Linked DNA regions of Homo sapiens: region 2 is linked to region 1. Evidence: promoter capture Hi-C in human tissues and cell types (Jung and others, 2019). All regions are on one chromosome and are shown on one strand. The core of a region is centred on a gene start or on the middle of the fragment in contact, and the rest is flanking DNA. Distances in the headings are between cores, read along the strand shown. Region 1 holds the start of EVA1C (eva-1 homolog C). Region 2 overlaps LOC101928107 (a long non-coding RNA gene).

Region 1 (4,727 bases), core at 960-3,459:
CCAGGGCCCTGAGCTCTGGCCTGCCTACCTCCAAGTCCCCTGGCTCTTCCCTTTGCTCTGCTCCAGCTGTCTAGACTTTTCCCCATCCTTCAAGACAGCCATGCTCCTTTTGGATTTCAACATGCTGGTCCCTTTTTCTAAAATGTTCATCCTCCCGCAACACCCGGGTTTTGCTAGTTTTTGCTTGGCCAATTCATCCTCTAGCTTTCTCATCCATCTTGCCTTAAAATGCTCCTGAATATCTCCCTTCCTCCCTCGGGCTCAGCTCCTTCATTCCTCGCTTCTGCTCCCATGGTTCCTGTCTTTCGTGACTGTCCGTTCACGGGGCATTATTTTCCAATGTCTGTCTTCCCTGCTGTAATAGTAACTGTATGCATTCATCCACTGGAGTTGCTTCCATCTTTTGGCCATCATAAATAATGCTGCAATGAATATTGGTGTGTAAGTATGTTTGAGTTTCTGCTTTACCAGGTAAGAAAGCCTGGGGATGCTGTCACAGTGAGTAACAGTGCCCACTTAGACATTTGGAAGCCAGTGCAGACCCACAGGGCAGTGCTGCCCACTCCCAGGACTCGGGAGCATGGCTGCCTCCCTGTGCCAACACTGTCAGTCACTAGCGCAGAACCTGGCACACGTTGGTACCAATTCATATCTAAACTGGATGAATGAACAGACAGAATGGAAAGTACAGGAGGGACCCGAGTTTTGGACAAACATTACTTACCCTGTGGCTCCTAAGTGCTGGGCATCCTTACCCACACTCCCAGCTTCAGTTTCCCTAACCTAGAGAGCGCACACTAATATTTATGTTCAAATGTTATTGGGGAGGTTGAGTTTTTATTTAATATTTGAATGTAGATTTTAAAAATCATTATGCCAGACAGGCTGGGCCTCACTCGATAAACACTGATGTTTAGCATTTAACACACTTTTCCCCAGACTGGAAGAAGAGGCCGAGATCCCAATTCGGTGACCCAGCCCTTGCTGGAGTACTAGGTGGTATCTAATGCCATCCACCCTTCCGGGATCTTTACGGCCCACCTCTGAGTGGGTCCCACGGGGACCCTCAGCCGCATTTTCTTTCTGCAGGCCTCCCTGCACACTCTGGGGCGTTCGCAGCTCTGGAGCCCGCGGGGCAGTGCGTCCGGCCCCGCCCTGGGCCTCATTATCTACGTTTCCGCGTCACGCCCGCCGCGAACTTGGCAGGCCCTCCCGCCGGGTTCGGGAACACTGTGTGCCTAGCGCCCGCCCTCCTCCCTTCCGCCGGCCCCGCGCGATCCATAGGGTTTGGGTCGCTGGGCGCCAGGTACCCGCACCCGGCAAGCAGCCACGGAGCCCCTCGCGCACTTGTCCTCGATACCCTTGAGTTGGGGCTACGCAGGCCACTCCTAGGCCACTGGCTGGGCGTCCGAACGTGGGTCACCCCGCGCACAGTCTAGAGGTTCAGAAAGATGCTGTGGCCCACTTTAAAACAAAGCCCAATTATTAGCGCTCGGCGGCTGTTTGCGCCGGTGCAGTGTCAGATCCCCCAGCGCTGCGGACAACCAGCACCCAAAGGAAGCCGAGCTGGAGCTAAAGATCCCGGCTCCGGAGCCATCTGACCGGTTTTGAGACCTCCAGCTCGTCGCCGTCCTGGCTGCGAGAGCTTGGGCACGGCGCCGGGGCTCAGTCTCCTCTTCTGTGGAATGGCGATAACTGTATGTGCCGGGTGACTGCACGTGGCGCGCGGCGGGTGGCGGGGATGGCAGCGGTGCGATCCCACGCCTCCAGGACCCCACCTTCCTGCGGCCCCCGATCGGCCCCGCCCCGGGGGCGCCCCAGCTGCACGCGCGGCGCTGGCTCCAAAGTGCGTCACGGGCACCGGCCGCGCTCCTTCTGCCGCCAGGGCGAGGCTGGCACCCGGCCAGCGCGGGCAGGGCCACGGGTGCCCGGCTGTTTCCCGGGTGTGGAAGGCGCTCAAGGTGCGCGGCCCGGGGCGCGCTACTGGGGGCGCCCTCCGCGGTGGGCAGCGCGCCAGGGATCGGCCTGGGCAGCCGCGGGGCGCGCGAAGGCTGCGCTTTCCCTACGGCCCCCCTCGCTTCCTCCGGCACGGCGGCAACGGAGATTTCCTCTCGGGGAAACTACGCGGATCCTTTTCGGGGATCCTCGCCCCGCCCCAGTTCTCCGCCCCCTCCCCTTTGCTGGGGCGCCTGGGCTGGCCCGCGCAGGGGAGGAGGCTCTGGCAGCCTGGGCAGGGAGGCGGCGGGGGGCCGCGGAGCCGCTGGCCATCGATTCTCCCCGCCATGTGACGCCGTCCTTAGCCCTGCGACCCCCAGCGCGTCCCGGGCCTGCGCCTCCGCCCCGCCGCGCAGCGCACGATGCTTCTGCCGGGACGCGCACGCCAACCGCCGACGCCCCAGCCCGTGCAGCATCCCGGCCTCCGCCGGCAGGTAGAGCCGCCGGGGCAGCTCCTGCGCCTCTTCTACTGCACTGTCCTGGTCTGCTCCAAAGAGATCTCAGCGCTCACCGACTTCTCTGGTAAGAGCGCCCTCCCTGGCTGTGTGCCCCCGGCACCGCGGAGCGCCCAGGTGAACCCTCGACTGGGGGCAGCCGCACCAGTGGACACGGCGGGGTAGGATTAAAGTTGAGGCGTGCTCACAGACACTTGTCTGGTGTGAGCCCTTGGCATATAGATGGCTGCGAGTGAAGTGGCGACGGGGGACTGCCACTCCCAAGAAGGAAGGGTGTGTAATGTATTCAGAGTTTCTCGCCCTGCTGTTGACCTCGTCAATTTCCTAGCATTAGGGACCTGGTCCTGAGCCACGCTCGTTCTATGGAGGCTCCTTAAACTGAGCCCTGTGCCGCGCCCAGCGCTGTAAAATACACGTGTTGTGGTCGGAGGCGTTGCGCCGCGTTTGTCACCCGCGTAGCCCGTTTGCCCATGTAAGGAGACTAGCCCAGGGGACACTTGACCTCGAGTCCACATTGGCAGGTAGAAAGGGAAGCCCGCGGGGACTGGAGGTCTGGTGGAAAGGCAGTGAGGGATGAGGAGATACTTAGATAAGAGAGAGGAGCCTCTCTGCCAAAGTGTACCAGGGTCCTCCCTCTCCAATTCCAGTTTCCTTCACAGAAAATAATGACTTCCTACTCTCGAATAAACTAGGAGGCTTTTCTTTTTGGGAATCGTGATCCAGGCTCTCGCAGCGGATCTCAGATAGTTCTGAGCTTACAGGTGTGACGCCCCAAAGTGAAAGGGATTTCTAGGTTGACGATAGCCATAGGAGCACATGCTTAAGTTAGCGCTGCAGTTGCTTAAGGTAACACATGTCCTTGCCGCTGAAGCACACCTGGATCTCCCTCTGGCAAGGCTGGAGGCCTTCAGCCTTCCCCAGCCCAGCTTAGGGAGCAGCTCTGAGCCCCATACTCCTCCTTCTCCAGGGATCTTCTGCCAAGTTCAGGCTTTGCACAGTCGGTCCCTATCGGGTCCTCAGTGCAGAGTCTTTTGCAACATAATGGTGGTAAAGGGAGTCCTCCTCAGTCCTGTTTGTGCAGTAGGCTAGTACATAGCAAAGAACAAGGGCAAACCAGAAGTTGAGATGGGGTTCTAGTTTACTTACAGAGAATGTCATTGTTAGTGGAGAGCCCTTAGGTCAGAGGTTCTTTGCTTTGAATATGTAATATCAAGGCAGTATTCCTACCTAGCAAAGGAAGCCAAGATAAGGCCTATTTGGCAAGCCACCCACGGCCCTTAAAATCAAGCATCCCAGGATCAGAACTCTGTGGTAAGAGTTGTGGGGAAATGCATCAGACTTTTCAAGGGCTATTAACTTTTTTTTTTGTACTACTAGAACTTTCTTGGCTGCTAGAAAAGCTCTGTATTAGCTGATTTGAGCTATGGAAAGCAGTTCTGAGTTCAGCCACCATCTAGCTCTGAATTCTAAGGAAATAATTGAAAACTGACAAGCCTTTTTGTGTTTGTGACATCATTGCAACTGAACAAATATTGCTTTAGGCAAATTGCAGTGTAACCATTAGATTGTTTTCACAGATTATAGACACTTAGAGTTCTGTTGCTTTAGGGAAGCAGTTGCAATACTTGTAACAGTCTATAGATTACCACCCAAGTTTGGAATTGTCTGTATCTAGCAACTGTTACATACAGTGGAGTTGAGCTATCAACTCCTTAGTAAAATGAATGATTTGATACATGTTATTCTAAATAGTATAAATGATAAAAGGCATTTTCTTCTGCTTTCCATACGAACCTAAATTCCAGGGTTTCAAACTCCCTGAGCCAGCAGTAGGTGGTGATATTGCCACCCACAACGAGCCCCCATTTTTCCTCTCATCAGTGATGCTCTCCAGAGATCTGAAGATTAGGCAGAACATGTCAGAAGCCTTTTGGGGAGAAGAAAGGAAATATAATGTCCTCCCAAACCACTGATGCACTTAAATTTAAACCTTAATTCTATATCATGTGAGGTCAGGGAAATATTAGAAAAATCTCAGGGAGAAAGAAAGATCATCTTCCAAAGTTGGCTCATTTGACTTGGATTTTAGCCGCCCTCCCTCTGCAAATTCCTAAGCTCCAAAGATGACCATCTTATTGTTCGGTTCAGTGTTTCAGCTGACGCGAACCCCATGTGGCCTCAAAGCTTGCCGCCTGTGTTCCTGGGACAGTCGGTCCTGTTCCTTTTTATGAACTTGAAGGAGTGCATAGAAACCAAAACTGAGGCCTGGAAGGAGAC
Region 2 (4,727 bases), core at 943-3,442, 700 kb after region 1:
TGAAAGAAGGGTCTTATCGAATTCAGCCTTTGTCCTGCTGCCATTTGTCATGGGAAATCTTTCCAGGGACTGGCACTCTGACTTGGTTGGAAAGCCAAGGGTATTGAGCCCACATCAATAGAAGGAAGGTTTGCAAGCCAAGTCTACACCTGCCCTCTGCCGTGCCCAACAGAGGGGAGACAGTCTGGGGATTATTTACCCCTGGAACTTTTGCTGCAATAAATAAAGCAATGCTGGAGGCTTGAAGGAGTTTAAAGACTAACAGGGGAGATAATAATTGTTACTATGCACCAGGCAGGGTTCTAAGTCCTTTGCATAAATTAACCCACTTAAGCCTCCCAACAGCTCCCTGAGGTTGGATACTATTAGCCCATTTTTACAGGTGGGTAAACTGAGGTACGGGGGGTTAAATAATTTGCCTAAGATCATACTACAGGGAAGCAGTAGAGAGGAGACTCGAACCCCTGAAAACACAAAGAGCAGCCCTGGGCCCTCGGCAAAGACGACGCTTCCTATCCCGGGGACAGAGGGAGACAAGTCCAGGCATCCCAGAGAGCAGGAATCCCAGAGCAAAGGCCAGGAGTGGGACCACAGGCAGAGTAAGGGGCCCAGGTGGCTGGTGCACCCGCCTGAGGATCGGATGTCTCTCTGGGGCATTGTGTCTACTTAAAGCGCTTGGCTCAGGTTTTCCATCAGGCCCAGAAGAGCCATTTTGGGGCAGCACAGAGACCTCAGAGGAATGAGCTCAACTGAGCGGCTGTAGTTTGCAAAAGCTGCCGACCAGACAAGCTTCACCCTTCAGACCAAAAAGAAAAATCCCCTCTGGAGCCTGAATTGTTCGGCAAAAAAGATAAACGTAGAAGCCAGTCCCAGATCTTAGAGCACCTCAATGGGACATGTGGATCATTTTCTGTAGTTAACAAGGAACCCTTAAAAGAATAAGCCATTCTTGTTACGGCTTTTGAATTGTGATGGCTTTTGCCTGCAATATCTGTATGTTTATGGCAAAATCATTATTTTGAGATGAACTATCTGGATAACTGTCGGAGAGAAACTGCAGGCTGCATTTCACCACTGATGCTCTGTTTTATGCATGTGTTGCATGTATTCCCACCAGTTGGTGGTAAACTTTTGCATTTTTCAAGCCTGTCAGAGGACCGACCCACTTTCTGTGCAGTGTCAGAAGCTCAAGAGAGAAGCCAGAAGAAAAAGACACAGTAGCCTGTAGCCTTCGGTGCACATCTGCAAAGAATGCATGCCTATTGCCACTATTGCATTCTGTCCGGGGCTCTATCATTCATCTTCTAAGCCAAACTTCTGCCAAGTCCTCTCATTTGTCCATCGAACATTTCCGTACCGGCTGTTTTTCCATCTTACCTCGCCAAAGTTGTTTATATTCTCCCTGAGTGACAGAGCAAACAAAAGCTGGGCAAAAGCAAACAAATAGGGTCTTCTGATAATTGAACCACTTTTGAATCTTTCATTGACAACATCTCCACACCGAAGAACACCTGCCATAGGTATCAAGCATAAATGCTTCTTCATCAATGGTTGCTTGCATCGAAAAGGGCTCAGAAAGATAGGACTCCTGACTGTTCCCTCAGAAAACGTTTGTGTTTCAGCTCATCTGGGATTGGAGAGCCCATTTCTTCCTGATGTGTGTCACTTGGAGGCCTCCAACCTGCAAACATCAGGATGGCTGCTTCCCTGCAAAATTAGGCAGCTGCAGGTTGACTTGAGTCTGTGTCTCCCGATCCAGAATGTGGGACGATGCAATTGAATAAGTGTGGGATGCTTTCTTCATAGCATAATGCTACACGATGACTTCCTACAGACACACACACTGAGAGAGACCAAGGGAGGATAAATTTGGGATAAAAATGCCACAATCTCATGGCCTCAACACCAAACTGGTGCTGATCCAATTCTTCCCGAAATGAAATGTGATGTTTCTGAATTCCTTCTGGCTGCCGCTGAAAGCCCCCACTTTTCCTGGTGACTGTGGGAGGCTGCGATGTGGTGGGGGTGGGGCACGGAGTACTGGGCGCTAAGCTCTCTCCTGGCTTCACATAAAGGAAGCAAAATCAAAATCCAAGCCTGAAAAAAAAGAAAAAAAGAAAACTAAATTTAATTGGCTAGGAAACAGGATTCCTGGGGCCTCTGCTTTCCCAGCTTCCAGAGAAGGATTTAGGCTGGGACACTTCCCCGCCCTCAGGACAAAAAGAAAAAAAAAAAGGATTAAATTCGGGTTGGGTCTGGCTAGTACAAATTGCATGCAGAGTATACAGTTGCTTTGCATATTGCATGTGCTTTCATGGAGAGGGAAAACGGGGGAAGAGGGAGGGCAGGGACACTAAAGAGGGGAAAAAACTAAAAACAACTTGCTGTTTTCATATGGTCGGATAGAACTGTTTTGTCTTTGTAACTGTGCAGAATGTCAATGGTAGGCACCGTGTCGTGACAAGATTTTTTTTTTTTAAGTTAAGCTAAGCTCACACCCGAGCTGTAGCCCCCCGAGGTACTGCAGCTTTAATTGTGTTCAGTATGATCTACAGAACAATATGTCTTGATAAATCTGAATGGCAACCCAGCGCACGGTTCCCCTTGGCATTGCTGCAAAGCCAGGCCTCGCTTTAGTGAACCCGTTCAGGAATGTGGGTTAATTCGCCGACCCTTTTTACCCCCACAGCTCTGTTTTTGTGAGGTTGGCAGAAACTGACACGTTTTCTTTTGCTTAATTAAGTTGTTCAGTAGAAGGCTGGTCAAACAGTTGCATCTACGTGGGGAGTCTGGAGATGCACAGAAAGCCGTGGGCGTTTCCAACATAAAAAGGGGGATTCTGTTATTGTTTGGGTGTAGACGGGTCATTTTTTCAAAGTTACTGCTGCCTGAGTGACCACAACCCTGTGCGCAGCCCTGAAAGGACATTAAAGCTGCTTAAATACAACTACCTTCGGTTTACTTTTTAAAAGAGAGAGAGAGAGAAAGAGGGAAAGAACAAGCAGGAGAGAAACGAAGCGGTCCCATTTATGTAGCATTTTATTTCTTTCCGGACTTTTTTTTTTTTTTTAAGGCAAAGAGTGGGCTCATTTGCATAAGAGATGCCCATACATTATGAATTACTGCTAGTATGATCAAACTCTCTTTCCAATCAGTAAAACAAAACTGGTACCATACCCATAGAAATTGCACTGGCCTTCTGAACAGAGGAGTGGGATCTAATCACCCTTATGCCAGACATTGGGGTTAGGAAAATGTCTAAAATCTCCATTGATGAAATTCCCGCTTTCGTTCCTTGGTGATATTATGACAACCACACACAGTATCAGTCTCATGGATTCTCAAAGGAACTGAGGGCCTGATTGGAGGCCTCCTCCATCACGTCTCTGTCCCTTTTTGAAGCCTCCTATATTTCTAATTCAAATCACCTTTATCATTGATATGCAGATCCCCCCGATTTTCTGTGGATATTTGGTCCCAGCAAGAGTTTTTCTCATTGCACGTACTGTGTGATATATTTAACCGGAGGCAGGTGGAGGCACTGGCACCTGGGCTTTGGGATCCTAGTGCTAACAATGAATGGCCTTGGTCTACTGTATGCCCTGAGTTGTTTCTATTGATGCCACTGTGCCTCAGTTTATCCATAACAGCAGATGCTCATTGTGGGTACTTAACAGGCACCTAATACATACATTTCTGAGTTTAAGCTGCCCCTTTCTCCCTTGGCAATAAAGCAATAATTAGAAAACTCACTGATTCCGCAGCACCTGGCACCGTCACTGTGCTGATAATCAACACCATGATTTTCAGCAGTTATGAAGCCCGGGTGCCCATTGGTGAAGCATCAGGCTTGCAGGGCTGCTCAAGGGATGTTTGTACATACTTGGTCTTGCAGAGAGCCATTATGCCTGTTTGGAAGCCAGGCACTCCAATTTTCCCCCAGGTCCCAGAACTGCAGCTTTTGGAAAGCCCAAAGATCAGCCTCTTCCTTCTAGAGAGAGAAAAGACTGCAGGGTCAAACATTTCAAGAGACTTCACCATGATTTTTCACTTCTCTTAATATACAAGAAACAGTAGGCAATTATTTGACTGATGTTAGTTGCATGAATGGCAAAATGATTCTCAGGCCAAAGAACAATCCATTTTGGAGTATAAATGACTTGGATCAGCAGTCTACACTGATATCAGCTGTTTGTTTGTTTTTTAAAGTCTCACTATGTCACCCAGGCTGGAGTGCAACGGCATGATCATGGCTCACTGCAGCCTCGATCTCCTGGACTCAAGCCATCCTCCCACCTCAGCCTCCTTAGTAGCTGGGACTACTACAGGCATTCACCACCACACCTGGCTAAAGTTTTTTACTTTTTATAGAGATGTGGTCTTGCTAAATGGTTGCCCAGGTTGGTCTTGACTCCTAGGCTCAATCGATCCTCCCACCTCGGCCTTCCAAAGTGCTGGGATTACAGGCCACCATGCCCAGCCCGGTTTTTCATTACAAGCAATACCTGCTTACTCCTCAGATTTTGCCAGAGTTGATTATAGATTTATACTCAAGACACCAAGCTCCTATATTTAGGTTGTGTATATTCAGGTTCCCAAAAATACACAAGAAGTTGCCCAGATTTCAAGGCGCTTCCAACCTCTAAGTAGAGAGGATGGGGAGATTTCGAAGACCTGTTTTGCACAACCATTCCCAGATGACTTATTACTCTGAAGAACCAACGCCT

Evidence for each region. The method cuts DNA at HindIII sites, captures the fragments that hold promoters and counts their contacts. A contact is called where the count stands out against the background at its distance.
Region 2: a contact is called between a fragment that was not itself captured here and the fragment with the promoter of EVA1C in region 1, in 1 of the 25 tissues and cell types used here (lymphoblastoid cells).

Annotation. Positions count from the first base shown.
Region 1 is chr21:32,410,497-32,415,223 of GRCh38, forward strand. EVA1C (eva-1 homolog C) reads left to right here and starts at 2,210. Exons shown (of 8, transcript NM_058187.5): 1 at 2,210-2,517. The coding sequence starts at 2,358. The HindIII fragment of the contact is 9,144 bases long and covers 1-4,727 here.
Region 2 is chr21:33,110,633-33,115,359 of GRCh38, forward strand. It overlaps LOC101928107 (a long non-coding RNA gene), which reads right to left. Exons shown (of 3, transcript NR_109961.1): 2 at 3,754-3,991; 3 at 1,072-2,097. Among named protein-coding and RNA genes, the nearest start is that of OLIG1, 43 kb to the left of the region's middle. The HindIII fragment of the contact is 4,232 bases long and covers 77-4,308 here.